3 separate regions of the Homo sapiens genome follow, and all the other regions are linked to region 2. The links are contacts of gene promoters, found by promoter capture Hi-C in human tissues and cell types (Jung and others, 2019). All regions are on one chromosome and are shown on one strand. The core of a region is centred on a gene start or on the middle of the fragment in contact, and the rest is flanking DNA. Distances in the headings are between cores, read along the strand shown. Region 1 has its middle 4.5 kb from the start of SMARCA2. Region 2 holds the start of DMRT3 (doublesex and mab-3 related transcription factor 3). Region 3 overlaps SMARCA2 (SWI/SNF related BAF chromatin remodeling complex subunit ATPase 2).

Evidence for each region. The method cuts DNA at HindIII sites, captures the fragments that hold promoters and counts their contacts. A contact is called where the count stands out against the background at its distance.
Region 1: a fragment that was not itself captured here is called in contact with the fragment with the promoter of DMRT3 in region 2 in 2 of the 25 tissues and cell types used here (mesendoderm cells and thymus).
Region 3: a fragment that was not itself captured here is called in contact with the fragment with the promoter of DMRT3 in region 2 in 1 of the 25 tissues and cell types used here (dorsolateral prefrontal cortex).

The regions. Positions count from the first base shown.
Region 1 is chr9:2,009,095-2,012,616 of GRCh38, reverse strand. No RefSeq gene overlaps it. Among named protein-coding and RNA genes, the nearest start is that of SMARCA2, 4.5 kb to the left of the region's middle. RefSeq lists an enhancer at 1-110. The HindIII fragment of the contact is 5,967 bases long and covers 1-3,522 here.
Region 2 is chr9:975,312-978,709 of GRCh38, reverse strand. DMRT3 (doublesex and mab-3 related transcription factor 3) reads right to left here and starts at 2,055. Exons shown (of 2, transcript NM_021240.4): 1 at 1,255-2,055. The coding sequence starts at 1,708. RefSeq lists enhancers at 1,888-2,387, 2,388-2,889. The HindIII fragment of the contact is 20,406 bases long and covers 1-3,398 here.
Region 3 is chr9:2,055,628-2,059,252 of GRCh38, reverse strand. SMARCA2 (SWI/SNF related BAF chromatin remodeling complex subunit ATPase 2) reads right to left here. Exons shown (of 34, transcript NM_003070.5): 7 at 2,408-2,581; 8 at 789-962. Among named protein-coding and RNA genes, the nearest start is that of SMARCA2, 42 kb to the right of the region's middle. The HindIII fragment of the contact is 4,755 bases long and covers 1-3,625 here.

The sequences.
Region 1 (3,522 bases), core at 940-3,439, 1.0 Mb before region 2:
TTTTGTTTTGTTTTGCAGAAAATCATACAAAAGCAAATGTGGTTGGAGGGTAAAAGGACTCCAGGAGGCTGCACAGGGTGCTACGTTCACACGCAGCTTTTCTTTTTGGACTTTGATGAGTCATAATGTGTTCTCTGAACTTGCTTTTCTCTTTCTAGTTTGGTATCAAAAGATAGAAGTCACTTTTTCATGTCTGTATGGCCACATTCACTTGTTATGTAAGTCTGCTTTGGTTACATTCTGTATAGAGTAGATACTGGGTTTAAAACTTGGTATCTGGATACAACACCCTCATAAAGAAAAATTCCATGCACAACGTTAGGAAGCTTCTAGTCCCAACAGACAAACTGTTAATGCTGCCTGAAATGTTGCCTAGCTTCAAACACGAGCAGGTAAGACCGTTTAGGCAGTGAGTATTTCATCTTCAGTAATGGAAACCAAGATTTGACAAATTGAATCAGCTGACATTTAATTTAAAGAATAGTTTAGAATTAACAAGTAAATTTATTACAGAAATAAACACTCCTCTCTCTCCTTTTTTCTTTTTTTCCTTTTTGAGTCAGAGTCTCGCTCTATTGCCCAGGCTGGAGTGCAGTGGCGGGATCTTGGCTCACTGCAACCGCCGCCTCCCAGGTTCAAGGGATTCTCGAACCTCAGCTTCTCGATTAGCTGGGATTACAGGTGCCCGCCACCATATCCAGCTAATTTTTGTATTTTTTGTAGAGACAGGGTTTCACCATGTTGGCCAGGCTGATCTGGAACTCCTGAACTCAAGTGATCCACCCGCCTCTGCCTCCCAAAGTGCTAGGATTACAGGGGTGAGTCACCACACCCCGCTCTCTCTTTTTTTTCTAATGGGCATGTTCAATAAATTATGTTTTTCACAATCATTCCCCCAAAATACCACCCCCAATTCTCTTTATGATTATATCGTTCTTTAGCTTAAAATCCTTTGTCTATTCCCAATCCATTTTACGGTAAGTTTCAAACTTCTTGGCATGTTATCCTAGGCTGTGCATAGACAGGTCTCTACCAGCGTTGTTGACCCTGCCGCCAAAAATGCCTGGGCTCAGGGAAAACCTGTCTACCGTTTGGTTCCTAAGTGACCACATTGGACATTCTCCCCTCTGACTGAAGTGCAGATCCTCAACCCACATCCTCAAAACTCAACTATGACCCAGAATCCTTCTAGTGGTCTTCCCTGTTCTCCCCAGGCAGAGGAAGCTGCTTGTCCTACTCTGCTCCCATAGCAACCGGTGTGCGCCTCCATTATAGCACTTATCACTTTGATGCAATTATTTGTTTGGTGTTGTCCTCTAGATGGTTAGTGCCTGGAGGGTGTTTCGATTCATCTTTGAAACCTCAGCAATTACCCTGATACCTAGCACATTGTATTTAAAAAAAGAAAAGAAAAAAAAACTTTGTTGAAGGAAAGGATGAGAGATAGATAATAAAATTACCTGACATAGAAAATTTAGCCGGTCTTCACTATTAGTAATTATCATGTTAATGAACAACATCAGTAAGTGTTCCGAATCTTTACAGTATCTGCCAAGGCTTGAAAACGCTTGGAAAATGTGTTTGGTTTTTGTTTGGTTTTGTTTTGTTTTGTTTTGGGGAGGGGGGATGTGGGAAGATGAGGAGAAGCTACAGCTCTTGTAGTCATAGAAAGAGCACCGACAAGAGGTTTTGTTTGTTTTTAAATTAGGCTAGGAGTAACATGAATGCATACATGGCAATTGTTTAATACAGTAGTCACAATTATAATTGCAGCTCCTTTTTATTTCTCTTTTAAATTACATGCCTGAAGTTGTACAGAGACTTGTACATATGTTGTTTAATCCATTTAACCCTACGAGATCTATGACTTCATCTCCATTTTACAGGTGAGGAAACTGAGAATCAGGAAGTAATTTGCCTAAGGCAGGGATCTCCAAAGCGGAGTGACCAAGACAATTTACTGTGAAATAGGAAGAACAGAAGAAAATCTGTTTCTTTTTTCTTTAATAATTGAAAAAAGTAATGATGCAAGGACAAAAAAGAGCTTTATGTATATTTATTATACTCATTGACCCTTGACCCTAGAGTGTTTTACATGGTCCCTAAGTAAACTGGTCATGTGTCATGTAGTGTAGCTGAAGAGTACTGAAAAACAAAAAGCGCCACAGGCAGAGGGGTGATACTGGCACCTTCTGGTTCTTTCATTGTCATTGACATCTTTTTAAGCATTGATATTGCCTTAATTTTACAGGTTCCACGTTAAATAAATTCTTAAGATTATATCATCTAGTTTTTTTTTTTGTTTGTCTTTGTTTTTGTTTTTGTTTTTTGAGACAGATCTCGCTCTGTTGCCCAGGCTGGAGTGCAGTGGCTTGATCTCTGCTCACTGCAAGCTCCGCCTCCCGGGTTCACGCCATTCTCCCGCCTCAGCCTCCCGAGTACCTGGGACTACAGGCGCCCGCCACCACGCCCGGCTAATTTTTTGTATTTTTAGTAGAGACGGGGTTTCACCGTGTTAGCCAGGTTGGTCTCGATCTCCTGACCTCGTGATCCGCCCACCTCAGCCTCTCAAAGTGCTGGGATTACAGGCGTGAGCCACCGTGCCCGGCCTATATCAATCAACTCTCTTATTTGGGGAGCACGTGGCTTAAAAAACAATTTCTGTGAGGAAATAGAAAATTGAGATAATACCAATAATATAAGCACAGGTGAAAATCAGGATCAAATTTGCCAGTTTAACCTCTGAGAACTCTTTTCCAGCCAAATTGAGGACTAAAACAATGACAGCCTAATGAGATCTAACAAGAAATAGGTCAGGCCGGGCGCTGTGGCTCACGCCTGTAATCCCAGCACTTTGGGAGGCCGAGGCGGGCGGATTACCTGAGGTAAGGAGTTCGAGATCAGCCTGGGCAATACGGTGAAACCCTGTCTCTACCAAAAATACAAAATCAGCCGGGCGTGGTGACACACGTCTGTAATTCCAGCTACTCGGGAGGCTGAGGCAGGAGAATCGCTTGAGCCTGAGAGGCAGAGGATGCGGTGAGCCAAGATCACGCCATTGCACTCCAGCCTGGGCAACAAGAGTAAATCTCCATCTCCCCCCAAAAAAAAAGAAGAGAAAAAAAAGAAATAGGTCAAAAACATTCATAATTTTCCAGGACTATTTGAAATTTGGATTTATATTAACTTTCATAAATGATTAATTCTGTTCTAAGCATGTATGTTTCCTTGAGATACTATTGATTGTATGATAGCATGCTTAGCAAGATAATTGAAAATTTTCTATTCATCTTATTCTTTTACAATTTTTATTTTGTGTATGTTTTATAATGCACATAATATATTAATAATGAATACATGTGTTATGAGTAAATATACATAAATCATGCTCTATCTTTTTTTTTTTTTTTTTTTTTTTTTTTTTTGCTTTTTAACTGTAAGGGGTATGTGATTAAACAACTTGGAGATGACTAAATGATGAAGTCAGAATTTTTAACTAAGCTTGGTAGAACTCCACACTCA
Region 2 (3,398 bases), core at 806-3,305:
TGGCGGAAAGACAGGGCAGCAGAACTCCACCTGCCAGTCACCCGTTGACTCACCATGAAACAGGTGAGTCCGCCTCACTTCCTCAGCTCCACAGGATCCAGACAAAGCAGTCCTGGGCTCCTGAAAGCCTTTCTCCGAAGCTAGGGGTACCGTCTTTAGGGAGTTGGCAGGTCAGTGTAGGTACCAGTTTTGCCACAGTTCTACTTACAGGAGGGCTCTGGACCTTCCCACTCCTAATTCCAGCATGCCCCCTTCCGGGAGAAGGTGGGCTGTGTTCCTTTGCACATTTGCCCCAGTTAAGGAGAAACACCAAACACATATCCACTGAATTCCAAGAGCCATCAAAAGAGCTCTTGAGCTGGGCAGAACCGCAAGCTAGAAATTCCCCAGGAAGAGAGAGACTAAGAGACTCAACTCAGGCCTGCCAAGCTCAGGAGGCCTGGATGGAAACGGATGGGTGGTGGGGGATCAGATTTTTTGTATTCCTTTAAACCACGAAGACAGCTGAGGGCAGCCTGGGGAACAGTGTTAAAGGATCTAGGAGGTTCTGCAAAGGAGTGAATTCTGGGCGCATCAGATTCTTTTCCCGCTATCAGCTCACAAGCCTTTCCGGACCCTTTTACTATCATTGCTAAATGGAACTTATTTCACCAGTTACAAGAGTCTGGAGGCCACGGAGCAAAGCTAGAAAGGCCAGGGTTCTGAGAGTTGGATACTTGTCCTCACTCAAATTTTCCTGGGCCCTGGGCAGGGCCGGGCCGGCCGAGAAGCACAGCCAGCTCGACTCAGCCGAGTGTTGGCCTTGGCTCCTTCCCTACACCTACCTACCCATTCCAACCCCCAAATGGCAAGGACCTCTAAAGCCTGCAGCCAGGAAAATCCGACCCCACCGTAGTGAGTGTGCGCACGTGGGTTTTAATTTTGTCCTGTCTCAACTCCGTTGTCTCCCTGCTCAATCTGACACGTTCCGAACCCTTCAACCTGGGAAGGCACCTGGCGATACTGACGCACAGTCCCGTCGTTTGGCTGCCCGGAGGCGCCTTCCCTGCGGGCGCGAGTGCCACTCGCGCTGGGTCCAGACTCAGCCGGCTTCTCCCGGGAGAGGAAGCCCCGGCCTGGCGGAGAGTAGGAAGGAAAGCCCCGACAGGCCCACGTCCCAAAACTTTGCCTCCAGTCCTCCCAAGTGGAGCTGCAGCTGGCACTCCGAAGTTGCCCCCGCGCCCGGCCAAACTCCCGCACCTCAGACGCTCTTACCTGGCTTGGCGAGCTGCGCCTGCAGAGCCCCGGGCTGCGGCTCGGCAGTCCAACGCAGCGCGGCGGCCGCGGCCAACTCGGCAGCAGGGCGCGGCGGCTGCGGCTGCGACGGCTGAGAGGCTGGCGGCGGCTGCGGGGCGGCGACGGCGTCCCCCGGCGGCGGGGGCCCTGGCAGAGCGCGCAGCGAGTCGGGGATGAGGCTCTCCAAGCTCTCGTTGGCCTGCTGCCGGCGCAGCGCCACCTGCGCAGCCATGACCCGCTGCCGCTCGATGATGAGGATGCACTTCTCGCAGGTGCAGTCCTTGAAGCGGCAGTAACGCTTGTGGCCCTTGAGCCAGGACAGGACGCCATGGTTGCGGCAGCGCGCGCACTTGGGCGTGCGCTGCAGGGGCGCCCGTGGCGGCTGCGACACCGGGCCGCCCATGTACAGGTAGGGGGAGCCGTAGCCGTTCATGCCCCGGGCTCCCGAATGAGTTGGCAGCCTGGCTGCGGGAGAGGGCCAGGGAGCGCTGGACGGCGGGGCTGCGAGGCCCGCTCAGGGGCGGCCTCCGGGCGACGCGGCCCTTGGTCCCGCAGCCCCGGTGGTCGTGTGTGCTCCGGGGCGGCCGGAGGTGCCGCAGTCGTCTCTCCAGCTCCCTTCGCGCTCACAGCTCGGCCTCCCAGCTCACGCCCAGCCAACGCCGACGCGGGCCTCTGCCTTGGGCGCGCAGCCGGGTCGGCACGTCCTCCTTCGCGGAGGCGCTGCGGCGGCTGCAAGGAGCCGGCGACAGCTCTGATTAAGGTCTGAGCCAGCTCTTCTGCAGCTCCCTCGTGAGCCGGCCGGACCCAACACCTCCGCCGCCCTCCCCCAACCCCTCCTCCTTCCCACCGCCACCCCCGCCCCTGGGGTCCCTGTCTCCTTGCACTCCCCGCCCCACGCCTTCCTCCTCCTTTGCGCCCCTCGGGTGCCTGCACTTCACCTTCCTTGCCACCTGCAGCCAGGCCACTCTCGCGGGGGCGCTCGCGGCCCCCTCCTCCAAGCCCTCTCCGCTACCCCAGCCCGCGGCTGGAGACTGCGGCGCTCCAGAACGCGGCGGTGCTCGCGGGGCGGAGAAGGGGAGGACCAGCGGGAGTGAGGGTGGGGGTGCCTGTAAGCGAGTGAGGTGGCCGCTCCGCTTCTCTCTCTTCTCCTCCCTCCAGTCCAGATCTGGCCGCGTTTTTCCGAGCCCAAGGCCGCTTTTATCCCGACATTTGGCCGCAGAAGCTCAGCTCCGGGAGAACTCGAACCTACGGGAGTGTTGCGGTTGCACCCCGGACCTGGGTGGAGTTTAGGATAGGGGAGTGAAGTGATGTTGGTTTAGGAAAGTTAGGCTCTTTTCGTAATTTCCTTTTAGAACGTATTTTTTTCTCTTTTGTTGCTTTAGAAGAAAATGGTTTTGGAGATCTGCCGGCCCAAGGATGACAAGCCATTTTGCAGGCGAATTTTACTTTTCTACCCTCCTGTCCATGTTTTAATATAAAACAGTATCCTGAAAGGTCAGGGACGTACGTGCTCCTGTAAAGGATTTGTTAAGCGCCGGGTATAAACTTTCAAGGGGCAGACACAGAAGCCACATTGGCGCCCCCAAAGTTACCGATATCCTCTTCCCTCGCTCCCAGCAGCTACTGGAAGCAAACGGAGGTCTTGCGCCAGCCACTCAGTTCAAATCCCCACGGATTCTGTGATTCAGTTATGGATATGGGATGGGGCCACTTTTTCACCTCCTTAACCCATAGACCCCAGTCATAGATGTCTTGGGGGAGAGGGTCCTTCACAAGATGACAGCAGAAAACTTTGTTTAGATTATTTGCGTGTTCCCATTCTCCCAGGAGTAGCGGGCTTGGCCTAGTGCAGACTATCGCTATATATGCACAAAGAAGGCCCTCCACCCTCGCACCTCCCCACTGCCCATCAGCAAACAAGCAAAAACCAAAAAACAAACAAACAAACAAAACAAGTGGATACACTGCAGGGCAGCACAATAGCTCTATGCGAAGCGGGGCAGTTCCAGAGCCTTCGGTGGATGCGCTTCTGAGAGCGTGCACCAAGCCCATCTCCTGGTGGGGAATCAAATGCTAGATGAGAGCGTAGGCAAGTCCGCTGCAATGTCCGACCCCTCATGGGC
Region 3 (3,625 bases), core at 522-3,021, 1.1 Mb before region 2:
TGACCTTATCTTCATCTATGCAGGCATTACGTCCTAGATAGAATCTGCAGGTCTCCTATAATTATAACATCACACACACACACGCTTTTCTAAAATCCACAGTGTGCTCTGAGGTCCAATTCCAAAAATAAATGGTCAATAAAAACAAATACTCAGGCCAATGATATAAACCTATCTCTTCTGTGCTTATATGCCCATTAAAAAATAACAGTGCAAATGTAATAATCCATGAATAGCCTTTGACCATAACAAGGCTATCACAAAAAAGGCAACATTTCAAAATCAACTTAAAAATCACTTATTACACTGTTAGAGAATAATTTCTGCCATTAAAAAAGAAAGATAAGCACCAGAGGCTTCAAAACACAGACCTTCTTAGATTTGAAGACACGACTTAATGTGTTATTCATTCCAAAAAACGTGGTCATTCATCTCAAAGAGGCCATATTTTTAAAAGAACTGCATTTGCCATCCTTCCAGATCTGGTTATCAAACTCATGCAAAATACAGTACCTGCTTTTATGAGAGAAGCTGTAATGTGTACCGCGCAATGCCACCCCAGGACACAGAAATACTATACGCATCAGTCATCCCCCTAGATTTTTGGCATGCATTCTCCAGGAAAGAGAAAAAGTTTTTACTTCATCTCCCTAAGGTTCAAAGAAATTTACTAAAATTTTTGATAAGCAGTTTTCATTTTTTCCTTCTACTACCACCATATTTAATGGTCTCATTGCAGACGGACGTGGGTTGAGTAGTTTCCTGGGCTCCTGCAGGGAGTTCCTTACCATCAGTCGCCGCATTCTCTCCTTTTCAATCCGCTCTGTCTCCTTCTTCTGCTCTCTTTCAGTGTTGGCATGCCAAGTTGCCACTGCTTTGGAGAGCTTCTGGATCTTTCCGGCCACAGACCGATGATATTCCTTAAAATCTTTTGCATGTTGCAAAATACTGTTCAGGTATTCCTAGAAGATCCAAAAAGGGAAGAAAAGGATACTTAAAATCCAATGACCAGTGTCCTCTGAGCTATCAGTGTTGTCCAAGAAAACTCTCAGTGTGTGTTTAACAGCATAGGAAGACTAGAATCTGTTTGGGGATAGGTGCCCTGGTGTCTCTGCAGTTAAGGTGTGGGCCATGGGGCTGGTGGGAAAGATAGCCTCTTCGGGTTCCTTTTGTTGTAAGCTTTAGCAAGAGAAGCCTCCTTAGCCTTGAGGGTGTGGCCACATGAGAATGGAAAGATCGAAGACTGAAAGAGACCTACAAAATGGCAATGATAAAATGTAAAGCAAACCACTCATTCACTCCAAAATAAACCTGAGGAACATGAGTATTTCCAGCAAAAAGTATGTCACAAAAGTAATGTTTTTCTGCTCTAACTACCCTAGAGTATGACACAAAATAAGTTTATACAAAGTTAAAATTGCCATGCAGAATTTGTATCCACTTTTTAAATATATACTCTATTTACACTAAAATCCAACATTTTTTCAAAAGGAAACTAAGCTAAGCACTAAATTAAGCACAGGAAAACAAATACAATTTACAGGACTATGACAGGAAATCAAATCCTACATCAAAATATTTCCAAACCCCCAGAAAGGAATGTTTTTAATATTTGCCTCTGTGAAACATTCAACTAGGCCCTTCAGAGAAGCCAGGACACTATTATATTTGTTATGAAAATAACTTTTTGCTTTCTACTTTCCTTTTCCAAGTTCCTGCTCCCAGAATTTTGCTCTAGGAAATCCACCTATGCCCACCCATTCAAAAACTTCCCATGGGATTATGAACATGACACCTGTTATGGACTGAATGTTTGTGTCCTCCCAAAATTTATATATTGAAATGCTAACTCCCAATGTAATGGTATTAGGAGGTGGGGTCTTCGGGAGGTGATAAGGTCATGAGGGTAGAGCCCTTACGAATGGGATTAGTGCCCTTATAAAGGAAGCCCGGAGAGCTTTCTTGGCCTGCTTCCACCACGTAAGAAAACAAGGAGAAGTTAACAGTTTGCAACCCAGAAGAAGACCCTCACCAGAGCCCAGCCATGCTAGTACCCTGATCTCAGGCTTCCAGCCTCCAGAACGGTGAAAAATAAACTTCTGTTGCTCATCAACCACCCAGTTTGTGCTATTTTTTTATAGCAGCCCAGACAAACTAAGACAATACTAAACCTCATTGTGCTGCTAAGCAATTGTATGACCTTGGGCAGTCATTTATACGTCCTGGCTTAAGCGTCTTTGTCTATAAAATGATGTGGTTGGATTATGTACATGTCAAGGAACCGTTCTGTTCTGTGATGTCCCCACCACCCACAAGGGTCCATTTTTCAGTCATTCTGACCCCATTTGATGAATTCATTGGACAGCTCTGCCAAAGTGAGGGTGAGCAAAGCCCAGGGTCTAAGAACCTGGTGTTTCTGACGGCGTTTCCTCTCCTGCTCAATCTTCTGCTGCTTCTCCAGCTTCTCGGTCATGCGAGCTTCTCTCAGAGTCTGGCGCTTGCTCCGTTTGTATGCTTTGGAGTTGAGAGCCGTCTCCAGGGTCGTGTCCCTGCGCATGCAGGCCACCACCTCCTGTCTCAGCTGTCAAGAAGAGAGCAGTTAGACAGCCTTCCCTAACAGAAGCTAGGTTCCTGAACTCTGGCCTTCTCGCGGTTGCATTTAATGGAATAGAGTGGGGCGGGGAATCTCCACAAGCTTCTCAATCACCTTTGGTTTGTATTAAATGAAGGAACTAAAATCATGCCAAATGTATGCAATATTTTCAAGAACGGTACAAGATTTTTCTCCCCAAATAATTCAAATCAAAAGCAATTATAGTACTGTAACAGTAAAAGAAAGAAAAGATGTTGTCTTGCCTTTTAAATAACTTCATTTTCTCTAATTATTCTAATGATACCAATTAGCTAAATAAGCTTTTTAAATTTTCCGCTTTGTTTTAAGTGTCATGTTAACATTCTCTTTGTGTTTAAAGATTAATTTTAATGATGCTCCAAAAAAAGAATAAAAGAATTACTTTCACGTGTGGTAGCAGCAGGTACTCAAACAACGTTAATTCATAGTCTCATACAAAGGATGGGAAATATGAGTTTTGGCTTCTTCCCACTCCAATAATGATCTTCTTTCCAAGAGATCTACATTTTATATTATATCATGAACTTATTTCAGATCACAAATGTAATACTTTTATCTGTATTGCATGTTATGTGGTGGTAGGGGGTAGGGACTGGAGAATACACATTAAATAATCATTCCACTGCATCTGAAATATCATTAGTTACAGTTAATTTAATTAGGAAGCTTCATAAATAACAGATTTTTAAAATAATATCAAACAAAAATCAGAAATCAATAAGAGTCCGTCATGGCAACGCTAATTTGAACATAAACATATTCCGGAAAATATACTTGGTTAATATTCATTTAGTAAGATTTTATCCAGCACTTTATTAATTCATCTTATGAGGTCACCAATAAGAAAGAAGTAAACAGAACTCAGAGAATTTTCCCTTTTCTTTTTAAAATTTAAGCTGAAATCTACTCTCACAAACCAAGAGCCAAGTAGCACCTACCCACCACTAATGTCCATCTGTGAGATTATAGCCGGTAAGGCAAATATACACCCAA